Linked DNA regions of Homo sapiens: region 1 is linked to region 2. Evidence: promoter capture Hi-C in 16 types of primary human blood cells and fetal thymus (Javierre and others, 2016). All regions are on one chromosome and are shown on one strand. The core of a region is centred on a gene start or on the middle of the fragment in contact, and the rest is flanking DNA. Distances in the headings are between cores, read along the strand shown. Region 1 overlaps CYP4F22 (cytochrome P450 family 4 subfamily F member 22). Region 2 holds the start of AKAP8 (A-kinase anchoring protein 8).

What was found. The method cuts DNA at HindIII sites, captures the fragments that hold promoters and counts their contacts. A CHiCAGO score of 5 or more calls a contact.
Region 1: a contact is called between a fragment that was not itself captured here and the fragment with the promoter of AKAP8 in region 2, in 1 of 17 cell types (activated CD4 T cells). The highest score is 5.1, in activated CD4 T cells.

What each region holds. Positions count from the first base shown.
Region 1 is chr19:15,546,524-15,553,258 of GRCh38, reverse strand. CYP4F22 (cytochrome P450 family 4 subfamily F member 22) reads right to left here. Exons shown (of 14, transcript NM_173483.4): 11 at 5,018-5,151; 12 at 4,057-4,121; 13 at 2,503-2,585; 14 at 942-1,965. The coding sequence ends at 1,788. Among named protein-coding and RNA genes, the nearest start is that of CYP4F22, 41 kb to the right of the region's middle. RefSeq lists a silencer at 1,644-1,693. The HindIII fragment of the contact is 9,249 bases long and covers 1-6,735 here.
Region 2 is chr19:15,375,224-15,382,062 of GRCh38, reverse strand. AKAP8 (A-kinase anchoring protein 8) reads left to right here and starts at 2,276. Exons shown (of 14, transcript NM_005858.4): 1 at 2,276-2,350; 2 at 5,049-5,087. The coding sequence starts at 2,332. AKAP8L (A-kinase anchoring protein 8 like) reads left to right here. Exons shown (of 14, transcript NM_014371.4): 13 at 1,451-1,546; 14 at 1,633-2,013. The coding sequence ends at 1,941. RefSeq lists silencers at 1,651-2,140, 2,481-3,030 and enhancers at 1,305-2,219, 1,991-2,285, 2,220-3,135. The HindIII fragment of the contact is 7,918 bases long and covers 1-3,675 here.

The DNA of each region.
Region 1 (6,735 bases), core at 2,618-5,117, 170 kb before region 2:
TGGAGTGCAGTGGTGTGATCATAGCTCACTGCAGCCTCAAACTCCTCAGCTCAAGTGATCCTCCTGCCTCAGCCTCCCAAGTAGCTGGGACTACAGATGTGCACCATCACACCTGGCTAATTTTTTATTTTTTGTAGAAATGGAGTCTCACTGTGTTGCCCTGGCTGGTCTCTAACTCCTGGTCTCAAGCAATCCTCCAGCCTCAGCCTCCCAAAGTGCTGGGATTACAGGTGTAAGCCATCACGCCTGGCCCCCATCTTTTATATTCCCATATCAGGGACTACTCTACCATCAAGTTCCCTCAGCCAAATACCTGAGCATCACCCTTACCACCTCCCTCCCCTCAGCCCCCACTGCTAGATAGTCACCCCAATCCTGGCCCTTCCTGTTGTCTGGACCTCAGCTTCCCTCTTTCCCAGGGTCCCAACCCCGCAAGTCACCTCCCTGCCAGCCCTAGATCTGGCCATGTCCTGTCCTGATCCCGCTCACACACTCTCCATGGCTCCCTATTGCCCTCAGCATAAAGCCTGTGCATTTGGCCCCTTCCTTCATTCTGCCCCCACTTCCCAGATCCAACCACCTGGCCCCTGGTGAGTTCCTCAAACACACTCTGTTCTCCCTCAGCTCAGGGTATTCTCAGATGTTGTTCCTTCTGCCTGGAATACTCTTCCCTCCCCTTGTCACCCACTCAACTTCCATTCCAGCATCGGAGAAGCTCTCCCTGACCCATCCCCATCCCTCTGCTATATTCATCCAGCACCCGGGGCCTCTCCTTTGGAGCACCTGTCCTGGGTTGTAAATAAACCTTTACACGTGGAATTATTTGTTCAACATCTGTCCCCCACCCCCTAAGAAGGCAGAAAACAGGGCCTGCCTGTGGTTCTGAAGCAGTGCCAGCAAACAATATGTGATCTGTTGATGAAATAAATGAACACACAAACTGACCCCCAAAATCTGAGTTTATGTCCTAGGATAAATGGCTTTCCAGCCTCCTAGCCCGCAGCTTCGCTCAGTTGCAGAGCCCCTCATTCCCATGCTGGGGGCTCCACGTGTAAGGATCTGGCTGAGCTAGGGGTGGAGGGTGGGGTAAGTCTGCATCCTTTGCTTTTATTCTGCAAAAACAGAACACTCAGCAAAGGATCTTTGGGCAAGGGAGGAAGGAAGGGGCTTACAAGGGTCTGAGTTTACAAAACAACAACAAAAGCAAGCAGCCTCGAACCCTACGATCCAGCCTCACGCCTGAGCAGTCTGCCCGTATGAGCTGAGGGCCTCAGGAGGGTGATGTCCGAGTTAAAAGCTCTGACGTCAGGCTCCAGCTTTCCTCAGTTTGGAAGCCTGCCAGGGGTTCAGCCAGTTGGGGGGGGGTGGGGTGTGGTGGGCCCTGAGTCATAGGTGGGTCTTAGGTCCTCTGAAGGCTCAGTGGGCAAGGCCTGGAGACCTGGATCTGCAGGGGCGTGGCCTGAGGACCTCAATCCGTAGGATCCTGGGGGCGGGGCCTGAGCCCAAGGGGGCAGGGTCGACCCTGGTCCCTCAAACAGGACAGGTGCGAGAAGTCAGGGGGCGGGACCTAAGCCTCAAGGGGCGGGATCAGGCCCCCTAAGGGGAGGAGCCTTGCCTTGAGGGGCGTGGCCAGTACCACCAGGCTGCTCAACAGCGGTGCCTGGTCATCCAGGAGCTGAACCTGAACTTCGAGGGGGGTGGCCTATGCCCTCGGGATCTTTGGGGCGAGTCCTGGTCCTTTGGGGGCGGGGCCTGGACCCTCGGGAGCCGCAGGGGCGCGCCCACGCTCAGGCCCGCGGAGGCAGCGGCTCCACCTTGAGCCAGAGCCCGTTCTCCGTGCGCAGTATGAGCTCCGGCTTCCGCCGCACCTTGCGCGTTCGGTCCACGCTCAGGCGGAAACGTAGCAGTGTTAGTGCCACAACCACGCGCAACTCGGCCATGGCGAAGCTCTGTCCGATGCAATTCCTGGAGGAAGAGGGGACAGGGCTCAGGCCCAGCTTCTGTGTGAGCACTGGTCCCCGGGGGTCACATGCCTCCTTTGAAAATGAAGCAAGCATCCTGGGCTGGCTGAGGGTTAAAGTGAAACCCCACGCTGGGTGAGGGTTAAAGTGAGACCCCACGGATCGCTCAATTAATGTGACCTTGGGGTTGAGTGTCTGAATCCCAGTACAGCCTCTTACTAGCTGTGTGTCCTGGATACACAGCGCCCCCTCTGAGTCTCAGTTCCTTCATCTGTAAAAACGGGGACAAAGGCATCATAGAGCCAATGGGAGCGTGGGAGCCCAGAACTCAGGGCCTGACACACCGTTGGTGCTCAATACCCAGGATGCTATTGCAGAGTCTGATTTGGGGGCCTCCTGGCGCATTGGGGAGAGGGTGCTGGGTCTTCAGAAAGGACGCCTGGGTGCCATCTGATCTCTGCTCCTGAGAGGCACATTCCTGATCTTTCCCTGCCTCTGTTCCTACACAGCTGGCTTGGACTAGGGGAAATAGAGGGGTTACCTGGGTCCTGCAGAGAAGGGCACATAGGCCAGTGGAGAGCGCTGCTGTGGGTTGTCCGGGTCAAAGCGGTAGGGGTTGTACACCTAGGGAGGAACAGCCTGGAGATGAGTCTGGGGGCTGCCCCAGACATCCCAGCCTGGCCCCCTTCCCTGAGCCTCTGGGGGTCAGTAAAGATGGATGGGGAGCACCCCAGGGCCACCTCTTCCATTCCACCTTGCACTTCCTGCAATGCAGCCACACCTGCCTCCTTCTGTTGTTCACACGCACCAGTGAGATTCCACCTCAGGGCCTTTGCACTTGCTGTTTCCTCTGCCTAGAACAGGCTTCTCCCTGATCCTTCATCCCCTAAGTTCTCAGCTCAAACATCTCCTCGGCAAGGCCTTTCATAACCACTCGAGCTAAAGTGCCCCCTCCACCTGTTTTTCTTTTTTTTTGTTTGTTTGTCTGTCTTTGTTTGTTTGTTTGTTTGTTAGAGTCAGAGTCTCACTCAGGCTGGAGTGCAGAAGCGCGATCATAGCTCATTGCAGGCTGGGCGCGGTGGCTCACGCTTGTAATCCCAGCACTTTGGGAGGCCAAGGCAGATGGATCATCTGAGCTCAGGAGTTCAAGACCAGCCTGGCCAACATGGTGAAACCCCATCTCTACTAAAAATACAAAAAAATTAGCCAGGCATGGTGGCACACACCTGTAATCCCAACTACTCAGAAAGCTGAGGCAGGAGAATCTCTTGAACCCAGGAGGTAGAAGTTGCAGTGAGCCAAGATCGCACCACTGCACACGCTCCAGCTTGGGCAACAGAGCAAGACCCAGTCTCAAATAAATAAATAAATAAATAACCATAGCTCATTGCAGCCTCAAACTGCTGGGCCCAAGCGATCCTCCTGCCTCAGCCTCCCGAGTGGCTGGCACTGCAGATGTGCATCACCATGGCTGGCTAACTTTTTTTTTTTTTAGAAATGGGGTCTCACTGTGTTGCCCAGGCTGGGCTGAGCTGGAACTTCTGGCCTCAAACAATCTTCCCATCTTGGTCTCCCAAAGCACTGGGATTACAGACACAAGCCACCACATTGGGCCAACTTTTTCCTTTTTGGTAGAGATGGGGGGTCTCGCTGTGTTGCCCAGGCTGGTCTCAAACTCCTGGGCCCAAGCGATTCTCCCACCTTAGCCTCTCAAAGTGCTGGGATTACAAGTGTGAGCCACTGCACCTGTAAACCGGAACTGGCCCAGTTTTTCTTTCTTTTGTGCATGTATCAATACCCAAAATCTTATTTATTTGCTTATTGTCTTCCCCAAAACTTCACTGTGAGCCCTGTAAAGGCAAAGACAGTATCATCCTCTATTTTCAGAGCCCAGCACACACTCTGGCACACAGTAGGTGCTCAATAAATATTTTCTGCCCTAATGAATTAACAATCAGTGGGTGAATAAATGGCTAAATGCGGAGTGGGGAGGGGTGTGCGCACTCAGGCCCTGCAACCAGCCCTGCTCGCTGGCTCCCTGGGGCGCAGGGGAGGGGAGGACCTGAGGGCAGGGAGGAGTGGGGCAGGCACTCACCTTGGAGTCAGGCCACACTGTGGGGTTGTGGTGGGTTCCATAGATGCTGACCAAGCAGATGATTCCTGTGGGGAAAGATGGGATCAGTGGGGCCAAGGGGAGCCAGGGCCTCCTCCAGAAACATCCCCCAACTTGGGTCTCCCTAGAGCCATGATGTTCCCATGAGCCATCTGCCACCACCTTCTGTCCATCCTTCTCTAAAAAATTCTGCTGCCCCATCCACTCTTCCCACCTTTCCCTAAGAGGAACCTATCATCTTCTTTCTGGCTGCCAAGCTGGCCACATAGGGATCTTTCTTACTCGCAGATCTGACATTGCTCCTCTTCAGCTCAAACACCTACCTTGGCTCCCTGCTGCCCCCAGGATTGAGTTCAAGCGCCATCACCTGGCACTCAAGGCCTTTCAAAATCTGCATCCTGAGGCTCTACTCCATAAACATGCTCACTCTTTCACTTCCACACTCCAAGCCTCACCTCCCACATTCCCTCCTCCAGGCAGCCCTCCCTGCATTCCTCTCCATATTGGAGCTACTCCAGCCCCTGTCTCTCCCTTTAGCCCATTCCTGATTCCATACGCCTGGGAATGTCTGCACCCTGCTGTATCTCCCCCAGAAAGGGCAATACTCAAAACCTGAGCCAGGGTCCCCTGTATCAACCAAGGCAGGGCTTGGTCTCCAGGGAGTAACTGGCAACTGAATGAAACTGACCCTCCCCAACTGCACCCTCACAGGCCCATCCCTGCGACACTGCCTCCTTCCTTTCCACCTGGACTCACCCGGCTCTATCTCCCTGCACACACAACTGGGTTTTCTCCAACACCCCAGAAGCAACAGGCACACAGAGAGCTATCCCATCTGCAGGGATAGTGCACCTGGGGCAGGCATAGCCAGGCCCCTGTGGACAATAGAGCAGCTACATCATTGGAGGCAGTGCACCAGCAGCAGGCGGAACATGGTAGGCACCTTTGGGGATGATGCGCCCATCTGGGAGCTTGATGTCCTCCGTGCATTGGCGAGAGACAAGAGTGACAGGTGGGTACTGGCGCAGGCTCTCCTTAATGCACATAGTTGTAAAGGGCAGCTGAGTCAGATCGTCCCTGGGGAGAATGGAGATATAACTAGAGGCCGAGCCACCATGGCACCACCTCCCCAAAACACACACACACACACACACACACACACACACACACACACACACACACTCTCTCCCTCTCTCTCTCTCTCTCTCTCTCTCTCAGGGGCAGCTGGGCAAGAAACCAGTCCAGGATTTTAGACTTGCCCCAATTTCTGCCATTTGCAGTTGTCTCATGCACAGGTGGGAAGTACTAATATTTAGTGGTTTTTTTGTTTTTTCTTTTCCTTTTTCTTTCTTTTTTTTTTTTAAGACCGAGTTTCGCTCTTGTTGCCCAGGCTAGAACATAGTGGCGCATCTCGGGTCACTGCAACCTCAGCCTTGCAGGTTCAAGCAATTTTCTTGCCTCAGCCTCCCAAGTAGCTGGGATTACAGGCATGCGCACCCACACCCGGCTAATTTTTGTATTTTTAGTAGAGACAGGGTTTCTCCATGTTGGCCAGGCTGGTCTCAAACGCCTGACCTCAGGCAATCCACCCACCTCGGCCTCCCAAAGTGCTGGGATTACAAACGTGAGCCACAGTGCCCGGCCAGTACTAATACTTAGGATGCAAAGTATCTGAGCACCAACCGCTCAGAACAGCACTAGCACTGGGCCCTCTGCTGGGCCCAGCATTAAGCCTTTAATTGATGAATTATGTGGAGGTCCAGGGGCACCTAGGCGAGGTGCCAGGACAGCCAAGGGGACTCACGGCAACAGCAATATGCCAGTTTATATGGTCCATTTCTGTACTTAAAAAACTGCTGCAGGACAGGTGTGGTGGCTCTCGCCTGTAATCCCAGCACTTGCAGAGGCTGAGATGGGCGATCGTCTGAGGTCAGGAGTTCAAGATCAGTCTGGCCAACATAGCAAAACCCCATCTTTACTAAAAAACACAAAAATTAGCTGGGTGTGGTGGCGTGCACCTGTAGTCTCAGCTACTTGGGAGGCCGAGGCAAGAGAATTGCTTGAACCCGGAAGGCGGAGGTTGCAGTGAGATGAGATTGCACCACTACACTCTAGCCTGGGTGACAGAGTGAGACTCTTGTCTTAAAAAAAAAAAAAAAAAAAAAACTGGTGCAGGCCAGGCATGGTGGCTCATACCTGTAATCCCAGCACTTTGGGAGGCCGAAGCAAGTGGATAACTTGAGCCCAGGAGTTCGTGACCAGCCTGGGCAACAAAGAGAGACCCCATCTCTACCAAAAGTTAAAAAATTAGCTGGGCATGATGGCACACACCTGTGGTCCCAGCTACTCAGGAGGCTGTAGTGAGCTATGATCATGCCACTGTACTCCAGCCTGGGCCACAGTGTGAGAGCCTATCTCAAAAAAAGAAAGAAAGAAAAAAAGAAAAAAGAAAGAAAAGAAAAGTGCATTATCTCCTTATAATATCATTTACTTAATATTTTTTCCCTTGGACTTTAGGGCCCAAAATTGGGCTAATGATAACTCTTGGTTCATGTTCTAGATTAGATTAGTTTCTTTAAATTAGCAGGTTCTCTTTCTTTTTTGATGGCGTCTTGCTGTTTCATCCAGGCAGGAGTGCAGTGGCACAATCTCAGCTCACTG
Region 2 (6,839 bases), core at 1,027-3,526:
CTTTTATCCACAGCAAAAATACCCAACAGTGACAACATCCAGTGCTGATGGGCAGGCAGGAGGACCAGGTCATTGTTTTAACACAGGTGGAAGAAGCATGACTTGCAAATGTTCTGCAGTTAATTGGGCACTATCACTTTGAAACCAAACCTGGTTAGAATGAAAAGCACCAGCATGGAAGTGTACAAGTTTATTCTAGTGTTGCTGGGTTATTGTGGAGAAGATCTGGAAGCAACATAAATGTGCCTCACTTGGGAGAATTTATGGTGTGGTTATCTGGGCATCTAGAACCAGGAGGATAAACTGTTGGCAAGTGAGAGTCACTGGGGGAACGGTCTATAGTAGTATCCTAATTGTGTATCTTTAGTTTATTGTGAGCATGTATGATGTCTGTTAATATTTTCCTCCAGTAGTAGAGAAAACGTGCTAAGGAAAAAAAAAAATGAAGATGGAGAGAGTAGAAACAGCAAGTGAGAAGGCTTTCTGAAACATGTAAATGGAGTGGGAAGGACTCAATGGGCTCTCCCACCCCACCAAAAATATCCTTCTTTTACCTTATGGTTTTTATAATGATCAAAGTGAGATTTGCCTGTACTCCCACCATGAGATGGCCCAGCATATTGATGGAAATCCTTCCAGACAAAATGGCTCTGGCATGCTCTGCAGACAGTACTATATTATACACCTTTCTTATGCCAGTGCAGAGATGAGCCCGATTTGAAGGGCTGCATGATGTTCTTTTGAATGTACGATTTATTTAACCTCTTCTGCACTGAGGAACGTTTAGGTGTTTTCCCATTTTTCACCACTACAATCAGTGTGCACGCATGTTTCCAGTTCTTAAATTTAGGATACGTTCTGGGAAGGGATTAATGAGACAGATTTTTACTTTTCATACATTGTGTCAAACTGCTTTCCAAAAAATACGGAAACAGTTGATCCTCCCACCAGCAGAGAAGACTCTCTTCACCCTTGCATGACTGGGAATAATTCTTCATTCTTGGAATTCTGTGGGTTAAAAAAGACGTTTCATTAAATATCTGTTCCTGTTTTTATATCTTCCCCGTTGGCCCCAAAGTGCTCCTTGCCTATTAGCCTAGTTGGCACCTTGTTACAGGTTGCACCCACCTTTGGCTCTTAGTTTCTTAATTGTTCACTGCTTATAGCTTTTTTGTAAGCAAATCAGATTTCTGTAATACAGCCGTAAAGTTAGAGATATATAGATCTGTATTTTTATTTACCTACAGTAAGTGTGGTGTGGAAGGAGAGGGAATTTGAACAAAGATCAGATAGGTTGTGGTTCCATGCTTGTGGAGTGGCCCTCCGTTGGTGGGGCTGGAAGTGCGTGGGTGCAGGGGCGGGGTGGGGTCCCTCTAAGCTGGCAGGGTCGGGGCAGCAACTTGTAGGGCACTCAGAGCAGCCTCTCCAGCTCCTTCTGCCCTGCCCGCAGCTCATGATGGAGCAGTCCAAGAAGTCCTCCCTCATGGTGGCCCGCAGTATTCTCAACAACAAGCTCATCAGCAAGAAGCTGGAGCGCTACCTGAAGGTGAGGCACTGGTCCGGGCCTGCCCTGTCCCCAGCTTAGTCCCCGCCTGTGCTCCCTCCCTTCAGTGTCCGCGCCCCTCCCCACAGGGCGAGAACCCTTTCACCGACAGCCCCGAGGAGGAGAAGGAGCAGGAGGAGGCTGAGGGCGGTGCCCTGGACGAGGGGGCGCAGGGCGAAGCGGCAGGGATCTCGGAGGGCGCAGAGGGCGTGCCGGCGCAGCCTCCCGTGCCCCCAGAGCCAGCCCCCGGGGCCGTGTCGCCGCCACCGCCGCCGCCCCCAGAGGAGGAGGAGGAGGGCGCCGTGCCCTTGCTGGGAGGGGCGCTGCAACGCCAGATCCGCGGCATCCCGGGCCTCGACGTGGAGGACGACGAGGAGGGCGGCGGGGGCGCCCCGTGACCCGAGCTCGGGGCGGGCGGAGCCCGCGTGGCCGAAGCTGGAAACCAAACCTAATAAAGTTTTCCCATCCCACCTCCGGGTTTCTCTGTTACTGTGCCGCGCGGGCGGGGCGGGGTGGGCAGAGGGGCGGGGTGCGCATGCGCGCGGGCCGGGCCGTCGGGCACCGCGGTGGGACCACAACTCCCATTAGGCCACGGAGCTGGATCGTAGCAGCCCGAAAGGCCAGCTGGGACGGCGAGGGCGGGCCCTCGTGAAGACCAGCCAATGGGGGCGCGCGGAAGTAGTGACGTGTGCGCCTGGTCTTCCAGTAGTCGATGGCGGAGGTGCGCTGAACGCATGCGTGCTGTGGTCGCCTAGTAAACGGGGCTGCTGGTGGGCCGCGTCGAAGACATGGACCAGGGCTACGGAGGTTTGTGTTGGCTGCTGGGTGCGGAGCGGGGAGGGAAGGCTCTGTGCGGGCGACGCAGCCGCTGCGCAGACTGCCGCCGGCCGGGCCTTCGTCCCGAGCGTGGTTGCCCCAGCTGGGCCCTCCGGAGAGGCGGCCAGGGCGCGCGCGCGCCGCTCATTGGGCTTTGGCGCCGTCGCTCCCGGGGCTCTGCGTGCGGATTGGCCGCCAGGCCCCGAGGAGGCGGGCGGGACTCGGGGTTGGGGCAGACGCCGCGGTGGGCTTCGTGGGGGCGTCTTAGACAGTGTGGGCCGTTTTTGCCCCTCACCTTCGGCGGAGTCCTTCCGGCCCCCAGCGACCCCGGGGTTTGCACTCCCGGCTTCCTCTTCCGAAGACGCCACAAAATGGCGGCGCTAGGGGGGCGGAGCTACAGCGTGGGGTTGTGAGGTCGGACCCGGGGAGCTGGGTCTGGGGCCGCGGGCGGACCGCGGGGGCCGCCTCTCTCCCGACCTGCCCTAGGCCCGCGGGGCCGTGTAGGGTCTCCGCTGGGCTCACGTGGCCCAGGGCGCCTGTCCCGGAAGCCGTCGGGCTGCGCGGGGTCGGGCCTTTAGTCCCCGGTGCAGCGCGGTGGGGCCGAGTGCTGCCGGCGCGAGAGTCAGCCTCGCCGGGCTCCAGCTCTGTACCCGGCGCGTGCTGGCTTGGGACAGGATGGTGAGGGGCAGATGCTGAGTGTTCGTATAAAGCTGGAAACCTGATGTGCCCTGGGGCTGGTGACATTGGCAGTTCTCCTTTAGGCAGTCTGTTGTGGTGGCCTGGAGGGGCCGAGGGGCTGTGCAGGAGGGAACGTGTCCTTTCCCCACTAGGATTTAGCGCTTGGCCTGCAGTAGGGCCGATCTTCTCGAGCTGCCTGCTCCCTGCTTCTGGAATCAGAGCCTTTTGGGAGCAAAGTTTGCCCACAGGGGATAGTTGGGACATGCTGGGTGGAGCTCGACTGGTTGTAGAGAAGCTAGTGGTCTGATCCTGGCTGCAGGAGCTCGAGAAGTTGTCGATCTTGAGAAGTGGCAGGGCAAAAGTATCCCAGCACCAGAAATTGCAGAGAGAGGTTTCGGTCCTGAGGCGGCAGCGTGCGCGGTGTGCTTTGGTGTCTTCCGGGTCCTAGCGAAGGCTCAGCCTGGCTCTCCTGGTCTTCCGCAGCCTGGGTAGATTTCACCATTCTTTCCCTTCTTTCCCATCAGATCTTTTCTGCAGGTATTGTATTCCTTCTTTTCATTCTTAGTTTGGAGAGGTTTTTTTTACCCCCTCTTCCTACCTGCCGAAAACCTTTCAGACACACTGGAGATAGTTAAGCTTCCCTGATTTCTTGTGTTTCCGGGAGCGTTTTAAGGTTAATAGTGCGTGCCACTTACACTAGAGCTTCACAGAGAAGCAGTCTCTCGAGGTTGGTTACTTGCTGTTGGAATCTGCAGTCTGCCTTTCTGCTGCACGGATGCGAATTTAGAAGGTTTTGCGGTATGACGGAGGGGAAGGCGTAGCATAGCAGAGGGCAAAACTCAGCAGTATGACTGGGTCAAGTCTCGTAACCCATGAGCCTAGCTCCCTTGTCTCTGAATGGCATTCCGGACAACAGGGTTTGCTGGGTGCTTGCGGTGTATCGGCACGCACTAGGCACTTAGCCGGGGGCGGGGGAGTTGTTCTGGTGAGGGAGACATGGATATGTTCCTGCCTCATCAAAGTGAAGTCATTTAACAGGCATGGTGGCCACCCGCGCGCAGCTCAGTGCTGGGCCCCAGGGACACAGAAATAAAGAGAACACAGTTCCCATTCTCCTTCCTGGAGGGACCAGACAGATGCCATAGTGGGCGGGGGGTGTGGAGGGGTGAAGAGTGCTGTCTGATGCCTTAGGGCCAGGCGAAGGCTCTGGGACTTAAAGGTCCAGGGGATCCGTGGAGGCCTTAAAAGTGGCAGGAAGGGCCTGGCGCGGTGACTCACGCCTGTAATCCCAGCACTTTGGGAGGCCGAGGCTGGCGGATCACGAGGTCAGGAGATCGAGACCATCCTGGCTAACATGGTGAAACCCCGTCTCTACTAAAAACACAAAAAATTAGGCGGGCGTGGTGGCAGGCGCCTGTAGTCCCAGCTACTCGGGAGGCTGAGGCAGGAGAATGGCGTGAACCCAGGAGGCGGAGCTTGCAGTGAGCCGAGATCGCGGCACTGCGCTCTAACCTGGGCAACAGAGCAAGACCCCGCCTCAAAAAAACAAAAAGTGGCAGGAAGTGCAGCTTAGAAAGATGCAATTTATGTCACTAAATTCCCATGCTTGTTTTCAGTTACGAAGTACTTGTGATGGCACTCTGAACTGGTTTCCTAGCTGTGTGGTGGGTGGGGGAACGTGTCCTCATGCTGAGTGGATTGTCTTGTGTTAGCCTCAGTTGTGGATGAAATCTTGGAGAGGTGAGGTCCTTGGCCAAGGTCCCTCTGCAGGGCGGAGCTGACTTCCAAGCCCACTTCCCACCCTTCTTTTTCTGCTTTGATCTCAGCCAGGTGGAATGCGATGACGCCATTAGCCAGTTGTGTGATGGCTTTTTTTTGGTGGGGTGGGGGGGAGTCTTCCTTCTTCTAAGGCTGGCACTGAACTGTAAGGAGATCCCTTTAGGAGTACCCCCAAAAGGACCCGTTCTCTGGTGTGACAAATAGAATTTTAACTCACGGGGTCTTCTTGCAGGCTACGGGGCGTGGAGTGCTGGACCTGCCAACACCCAGGGTAAGTGGGCTCTGCTTTGCGGGTGAGGCGTGGGCTTCCCCTAACTCAAGGCCCTAGCATGGCAGAGCTGAACTTGGGTCAAGGGAGAGTAGTAGCCCAGGGGTCAGCAAACTTTGTGTAAAAGATCAGATAGTGAATATCTTTGTGGCTTTATGGGCTCCACAGTCTCTGTAGCAGGAAAGCAGTCATAAATGTGTGAAAGAGTGGATGGGACAATGCCAGTAGTTACTTACAGACAATACAATTTGAAGTTCCTAATTTTTGCGTGTTAGTGAATACTCTATTTTGGCAAAATATTTTTGTTATTCTGAGTAAATAGCTGAGGGTATATCCGAGGTGTTTTTTCTCTATAATTACCAGACTTTTTAGTACAGCTTTAGATTGAGTAGTGGAGTTTCATACGCCCACCCACCTCCACTCAGGTGTACTGAGTGTACACTACACCTGTAGTGAGTGTACTAAAAATCTCATTAGTATGATTTTTTTTTCTTTTGATACAGAGTCTTGCTCTGTTGCCCAGGCTGGAGTGCAGTGGTGTGATCTCGGCTTACTGCAGCCGCAGCCTCCCGAGTAGCTGGGATTACAGGCACCCACCACTGCGCCCAGCTAATTTTTGTATTTTTAGTAGAGACAGGGTTTTACCATGTTGGCCAAGCTGGTCTCGAACTCCTGACCTCATAATCAATCCCATAATCAAAGTGCTGGGATTACAGGCGTGAGCCACCACGCCTGGCCTCATTAGTAAGATCTTTCATTAGCTGGGCGAGGCAGCACACGCCTGCAATCCCAGCACTTTGGGAGGCTGAGGCAAGAGGCTCACTTGAGCCTGGGAGTTCGAGACCCGAGCTCAAGTGATCCTTTTATCCAACTAATGAAAAATTAGTGGGGCGTGGCAGTGCGTGCCTGTAGTCCCGGCCACTCAGAAGGCTGAGATAGGAAGATTGCTTGAGCCCAGGAGGTAAGGCTGCAGTGAGCTGTGATTATGCCACTGTACTCCAGCCTGGGTGACAGAGCACGACCCTGTCTCAAAAAAAAAAAGGCCAGGCACGGTGGCTCACGCCTGTAATCCCAGCATTTTGGGAGGCCGAGGCGGGCAGATCACGAGGTCAGGAGATCGAGACCATCCTGGCTAACACAGTGAAACCCCGTCTCTACTAAAAATACAAAAAAAATTAGCCGGGCGCGGTGGCGGGCGCCTGTAGTCCCAGCTACTCCGGAGGCTGAGACAGGAGAATGGCGTGAACCCAGGAGGTGGAGCTTGCAGTGAGCCGAGATCGCGCCACTGCACTTCAGCCCATGCAACAGAGCGAGACTCCATCTCAAAAAAAAAAAACAAAAAAAAAATCTTGCATTGGTGTGATGCATTTGTTACAATTAATCAGGCAATGTTGATGTGATATTATTCACTATAGCTCATAGTTTTTGTTAATTTGTATAGTTCTCTGAGTTTTGATCCAGTGTGTAAGTGATGTATCTCATGTCAAAATTTGTCATTGAATACACTTTAGAAACTTTACCCCAACCATTTAAAAACGTAAAATTCATCCTTAGCTGAGGGCAGAGCCTGAGAGCACAGGGCTACGGGCAGTGTGCTGGTACTTATTTATGGGCACCGAAATTCGAAAATCCTAAGGGCTGTGCCAAGGCGGGAAGTGGGCTGGGTGTGGCTGGACTTTTTGCAGATCCCTGCTTTAGAGTCAGGGCCATGATGCTAGGCTTGTGTGGCGAACCAGTGCATGCTCTCTGCTGGCG